2 separate regions of the Homo sapiens genome follow, and region 2 is linked to region 1. The links are contacts of gene promoters, found by promoter capture Hi-C in blood cells and fetal thymus (Javierre and others, 2016). All regions are on one chromosome and are shown on one strand. The core of a region is centred on a gene start or on the middle of the fragment in contact, and the rest is flanking DNA. Distances in the headings are between cores, read along the strand shown.

Region 1 (3,067 bases), core at 175-2,674:
TATCCCCATTATACAGATGGGAAGCAATTTGGCAGGAACATGGAGCTGGCGAGTAACAGAATCAAGCCCTAACCCTTTGCCTGATTCCTAGGGTGTAATCTCTTAACCACTATGGTGCATTGCACCTGCTCACTCCAAGGCCTAAGAGGGAGAGGAGTGAAGGCCTAACAGGCACATCGTGATCGATGAGGAGGGCCTGGTGTGTGAGGGGTGTGCTGGGATTCCTGGGTCCCTTATGTAATTCAAACCCTGAGGTGGAAAGGAGGGAGGAAGTTTTGGATTTTAGGCAGAGTTGGGTGAACACCACTCCGTCTGGGCTGCTTTAAGAGCAGAGGACAGGGCCAGGAACACTGGCTCAAGCCTGTAATCCCAAGCTTTGGAAGGCTGAGAGGGAAGGATTGCTTGAACACTGGAGTTAGAGGCAAACCTGGGCGACATAGCTAGACCCCTCTCTACAAAACTTTATTTCTTTTTTGACACGGAGTCTTGCTCTGTCCCCAGGCTGGAGTGCAGTGGCGCGATCTTGGCTCACTGCAGTCTGTGTCTCCCGGGCTCAAGCAATTCTCCTGCCTCAGCCTCCCAAATAGTGGTGACTACAGGCGTGTGCCACCACGCCCGGCTAATTTTTGTATTTTTATTAGAGATGAGGTTTCACCATGTGCCCAGGCTGGTCTCGAACTCCTGACCTCAAGTGATCCACCCACCTCAGCCTCCCAAAGTGCTGGGATTACATGCGTGAGCCACCGTGCCCGGCCTCTACAAAACTTTAAAAAAAAAAAAAAATTGGCCGGTTGCAGTGGCTCACGCCTGTAATTCCAGCACTTTGGGAGGCCGAGGCAGGCGGATCGCTTGAACCCAGCAGTTGGAAACCAGGCTGGGCAACATGAGGAAACCTTGTCTCTACAAAAAAATTAAAAACAAATCAGCCAGGCGCGGTGGTCTGCGCCTGTGGTCCCAGCTACTAGGTGTAAGCCACCAAGGCTGACTGATTTTTAAAAATTTAGCTGGGAGGCTGAGGCGGGAGGATCTCTTGAGCCCAGAAGGTCGAGACTGCAGTGAGCCGCGATGGCGCCACTGCAGTCCAGCCTGAACGATAGAGCGAAATCTGCCTCAAAAACAAACCAACAAAACACCAGCAGAAGACAACTGAGGGAGGAAAAGGAAAATGGCACCGAAGTTGTTTTTATGTCGCCGCAACAGTGACACCCGCCGCCAGCTTGTCTTGACAGCGGAGATCCCGAACGCACTGCAATTTACAGCTCCAGGGGGCGTTCCTACAACCCCGACAGGTTAGCCGAGGGGCGGGGCGGGCGGGCCCCGGGGCGGGTTCGGCGTCCTCCTGCGCCAATGGGAGCACCCAAGCCCCTGCGCGGGAAGATGCCGATTGGTCAGTGCCGCCGGACGCTGCGGGGAGCTCGTGCGCGCGGCGCTTTTGGGGCGGAGCCTGCCACCGGCCGCCAGGGGGCGCGCCGAGACCACACTTTCATGGAGGCGGTGAAGGCGGAAGCGTGGGAGGGGGCCGCGGTGGCCCAGGACCTGCTGGCTCTGGGGTAAAAGGGTGTGCGGTGAGGCTGGTGGGTGCAGGAAGGCCAGGTCTGCCCCCTGGACGCGGACGAAAAGGGATTCCCAGTGACATCCCCGCCCCCTCCCGCTGCCTCGGTCCCCACAGGTATGGAGGTGTCCCGGGGGCGGCGTCGCGGGGCGCCTCATGCCCAGACTTCAGGGGGCTGTGCGTGCGGCTGGCGGCGGAGCTGGCGACGCTGGGCGCCCTCGAGCAGCAGCGAGAGGCGGGCGCGGAGGTGCTGAGCGCCGGCGACGGTAAACACGGAGCGGGAGGGTGGCAGGGGGGCCGCCACGGGGCCACCGAGCCCTGACACCCCTGTCCTCGCAGGCCCTGGCGCGGAGGAGGACTTTCTGCGGCAGCTCGGCAGCCTGCTGCGGGAGCTGCACTGCCCGGATCGCGCGCTCTGCGGCGGGGATGGCGCGGCTGCGCTTCGGGAACCCGGTGCCGGACTGCGCCTGCTGCGTGAGTCCCGGGATGCAGAAGTGGCAAGGCCATGGCCTCCGGAGCGGCGGGCTCTGACTTTTTAGGGGAAATCGAGGTTCCCAAGGGGTGTGGTCAGAACTTTGGGGCGGCCCAGAGGGTACGAGGTGGGTGGGGTGAGCATGTTGGGGCAAGCAGAGCGCTCTAAAATGGGCGGGGGTAGAATTTCGTTTTATTTTTTATTTATTTTATTATTATTATTTTTGAGATGGAGTTTCACTCTTGTTACCCAAGCTGGAGTGCAGTGGCGTGATCTCGGCTCACTGCAACCTCCACCTCCCAGGTTCAAGTGATTCTCTTGCCTCAGCCTCCCGAGTAGCTGGGATTACAGGCGCGCGACACCACACTCGGCTATTTTTAGTAGAAACGGGGTTTCACCATGTTAGCCAGGCAGGTCTCGAACTCCTGACCCCAGGTGATCTGTCCACCTCGGCCTCCCAAAGTGTTGGGATTACAGGCGTGAGCCCACCACGCCCGGCCCGGGGTTAGAATTTTAATTGGAGGGCCTAGGAGCTCAAGTGGGTTGGATTAGGAGGAAGGCTTGAGGTTTCAAAGTGGGCAGGAGTGGAATTCGTAGGAGGGGACAGGGTCTCAAGGTGGGGCTTACTCTGGAAGGCTTTAGGTGGGGGGGACTAGAAGGTGGAGGATTTTGTTTTGTTTTGTTTTTAAGTGGAGGTGGGGTCTCCCTATGTTGCCCTGTCTGGTCTTCAACTCCTGGCTTCAAGCGATCCTCCCACCTCAGCCTCCCAAGGTGTTGGGATTACAGGCTACAGGCATGAGCCACTGTGCCTGGGCAAAGGTGGAGGTTTTAAAGCCGGTGGAGCCTCTTTTTTTTTTGAAATGGAGTCTCGCCCTGTTGCCAGGCTGGAGTACAGTGACATGATCTCAGCTCACTGCAACCTCCAACTTCCTGGTTCAAGCGATTTTCCTGCTTCAGCCTCCCGAGTAGCTGGGATTACAAGCACTCACCACTATGTCCTGCTAATTTTTGTATTTTTAGTAGAGACACAGTTTCACCATGTT
Region 2 (3,067 bases), core at 322-2,821, 520 kb after region 1:
CCTGCAAGCCCCACCTCCGCTGTTCCAGCCAGGTTGAGATCTTTGAAGCGGGCAGGGTCGATGTTGTAAATTTGGGATGGGTTGGCATTTGGTGTCATCCCACAGCCTTCCTGGGGGAGGAGGCCAGGCCACAGGGATCAGGGGACAGGTAACCCTGGCCTCTCGTTTTACAGTCCCAACCCCAGCTCCTCCCCTGAAAACATCTGGAGCTGCCCTGGCCTCCCTGGTATGGCCTGGCCCCCTCAACCCAGCCCCAGGGCGGTCTCCTCAGGTTTCCCTGCCTCGGGCACCCACGGCAGGGCCTGACACCCAGGTGGGCGAGGGAAGCGGAGAGGCCTCACTCACAAACACTGCTCCGCGGAGAAGGTCTGGCACCGTCATGGGGGTGAAGCCCTGTTCAGGGGAGAGGATGAGTGAGCAGAGCTGGGACCCCTACCAGACCCCAAGCTCAGCCCTGAAGAAGGGGTGCTGCAGAGCCCCTTCCTCCTCAGACGAAACTGAGGCAGGGGCTGGCGCAGTGGCTCACCCATGTAATCCCAGCACTTTGGGAGGCTGAGGTGGGCGGATCACTTGAGGCCAGGAGTTTGAGACCAGCCTGGCCAACATGGCAAAACCCCCTCTCCACTAAAAAGGCAAAAATTAGCCGGCATGGAGATCGTGCTACTGCACTCCAGTCTGGGTGACAGAGCGAACTCTGTCAAAAAGAAAAAAAAAAAAATTAGCCAGCATGGTGGCATGTGCCTGTAATCCCAGCTACTCAGGAGGCTGAGGCAGGAGAATTACTTAAACCCGGGAGGTGGAGGTTGCAGTGAGCCAAGATTGCACCACTGTACTCCAGCCTGGGTGACAGAGCGAGACTCCGTCTCAAAAAACAAAAAAGTACAGATTTGGCCACACCCTCCCCTGCTTAAAAGCCTCCCATGGCTCCCTAGTACCCTCTGAAAATGTCTGAGTTCCTCACCGTGACCAATGCTCCATGCAACCAGTCCCTGCCATGTTTCAATGGATGCTATGATTCCCAAATGCTCCCTTTATACCGCAAGCAGGCAGTGAGGTGCAATGATTACAAGCACAGGCTCTAGGCCCAGCTCCAGACTGGCTGTGAGACCTTGGGCTATAGGTACCTCCCCTCTCTGGGCCTCAAGCCCTCTCTGTAAAGTGGGGATGATGACAGCACCCACTTCATAAAGTTGTCGTAAGGACTAAATGTGTCAATGATACACATGAAGCTCTGAGAGCAGTGACTAGGGCAGAGCAGAGATCACTCCCATCCCCGTTGGGCCCTCTGAGCTCAGCTTCGATGCCACCCCCTCCAGGCAGCCCTCCTATCTTGGCCCATACCCGGCGGAGAAGCTTGTTGAATGTGAAGTTGACCAGGCCGTGCTGCAGGAGGGCTCCAGCCCCGCGCAGGTAATAGGACCGGTGGCCAGACACGTGGGACAGGCGCCTGGGAGACAGACAGACAGGCGGGTGCACATGGGCCAGGCTGGCAGGGAATGTGGGGATGAAAACACCCGGGGGAAGAGGCCCGGCTGCTGGGTGGGGCTGGGGCATCAAAGATTCATGGCATTTCCACATCTCACGCTGAGGCCAATGAGGCAGGAGCCAGCTGTCGGGGTGCAGGCAGCTGGGAGAGGGGCGTGGGGAGCCAGGGGAGGGGCTCACTTCTGACGGATGATGTCGAGTTTCTCGCCAATTTCCAGGTGGCCCCGAGGTTGGAAGGAGAAAACTGGATGTGGGTGAAAAGCACCGGTGTAAGGCAGCGGGGAGAGAGGGATGGGGCCCAGATAGAAGCTTCCAGAGACAGCAGAGAGGAGGGACGGTGAGAGAAAATAAAGGAGGGGCAGGAGGAGAGAAGGGAGAAGAAGACACGGAAAGGGAGGGAAAGGGAAGAAAAGACAGACAGGAAGGGAGGGAGATAAAAACAGAGACAGGGAGAGGAAATGAGAGGAGGCAGAGAGGGAAATAAGAGGGCGCGGGGTGGGGAAGGCAGAGTTAGAAACAGAGGAGAGAGGCCAGAGGAGAAGGAAACACCACGAGGAAGGGAGGAGGAGAATCAGAGAGGAGGCACAGAGTTGGGGAGAAAAAGCCCCGGAGACAGGGACCAAAGCAGGGGGGTCAGAGAGAGAGACAGAGACACACACACACTCACACACATACATACACACACAGAGATACACACAGAGGTACGAAGACACACACACATATACAGACACACAGAGACAGACACATACACAGACACGCAGAGACAGACACACAGATACACGGATACAGACACACAAAGACAGACACGCACACACAGATACACACAAAGACACAGATACACAGACACAGATACAGACATACACACAGAGATACACGGAGATATGCAGATACACACACAGACACACAGAGACAGACACATACACACAGACACAGAGAAAGACACACAGATACATACACACAGATACATAGACACACACAGACACACACACACACAAACACAGATATACACACACAGAGATAGACACACACATAGACACACACACACAGACACAGACACAGATACAGACACACACAAACACAGACACACACACACAGATACAGACACACACAGATACACAGATACAGACACACACAGATACACAGATACAGACACACACATACAGATACAGACACACAGATACAGACACACATGACACACAGTCACACAACACATACATACACGACACACACTCACACACATACGATACAATCACACAACACAGGGTGAGACTGCCCAATGGTGAAGGGGGAGAGAATGAAAACCCAAGGACCGCCTCTCAGAGACAGCTCGAGCTCGGCCAAGGCAGGAAGCTGGAGCCACCTCCTGTACCGCCAGGAGTTCTCCAGGCTCCAGACATGTTCCCAGACCCCAGGGGCCCCCACCCCGAGACCCCAGAACCCCCACACCGCAGGGCTTGTCAGCTCCCAGGCCTGGGGTGTGGCCCACCTGGCTTGTCTCCGACCATGTGGAGCACTCGAGCCTGGCTCTCATCCCCGACGGGCTGCAGGGAGACAGCAGGAGTCACGGAAAGGTGGCACTAGG

Evidence for each region. Contacts are between HindIII fragments. The CHiCAGO score rates a contact against its expected background, and 5 or more counts as called.
Region 2: a contact is called between a fragment that was not itself captured here and the fragment with the promoter of FAM98C in region 1, in 9 of 17 cell types (activated CD4 T cells, monocytes, naive CD4 T cells and 6 more). The highest score is 8.7, in activated CD4 T cells.

The regions. Positions count from the first base shown.
Region 1 is chr19:38,401,669-38,404,735 of GRCh38, forward strand. FAM98C (family with sequence similarity 98 member C) reads left to right here and starts at 1,425. Exons shown (of 8, transcript NM_174905.4): 1 at 1,425-1,550; 2 at 1,670-1,818; 3 at 1,892-2,026. The coding sequence starts at 1,486. RefSeq lists silencers at 1,212-1,541, 1,732-1,931. The HindIII fragment of the contact is 11,725 bases long and covers 373-3,067 here.
Region 2 is chr19:38,918,421-38,921,487 of GRCh38, forward strand. SARS2 (seryl-tRNA synthetase 2, mitochondrial) reads right to left here. Exons shown (of 16, transcript NM_017827.4): 5 at 2,972-3,026; 6 at 1,666-1,729; 7 at 1,342-1,447; 8 at 346-393; 9 at 2-110. Among named protein-coding and RNA genes, the nearest start is that of CCER2, 7.8 kb to the left of the region's middle. RefSeq lists an enhancer at 1-589. The HindIII fragment of the contact is 441 bases long and covers 1,352-1,792 here.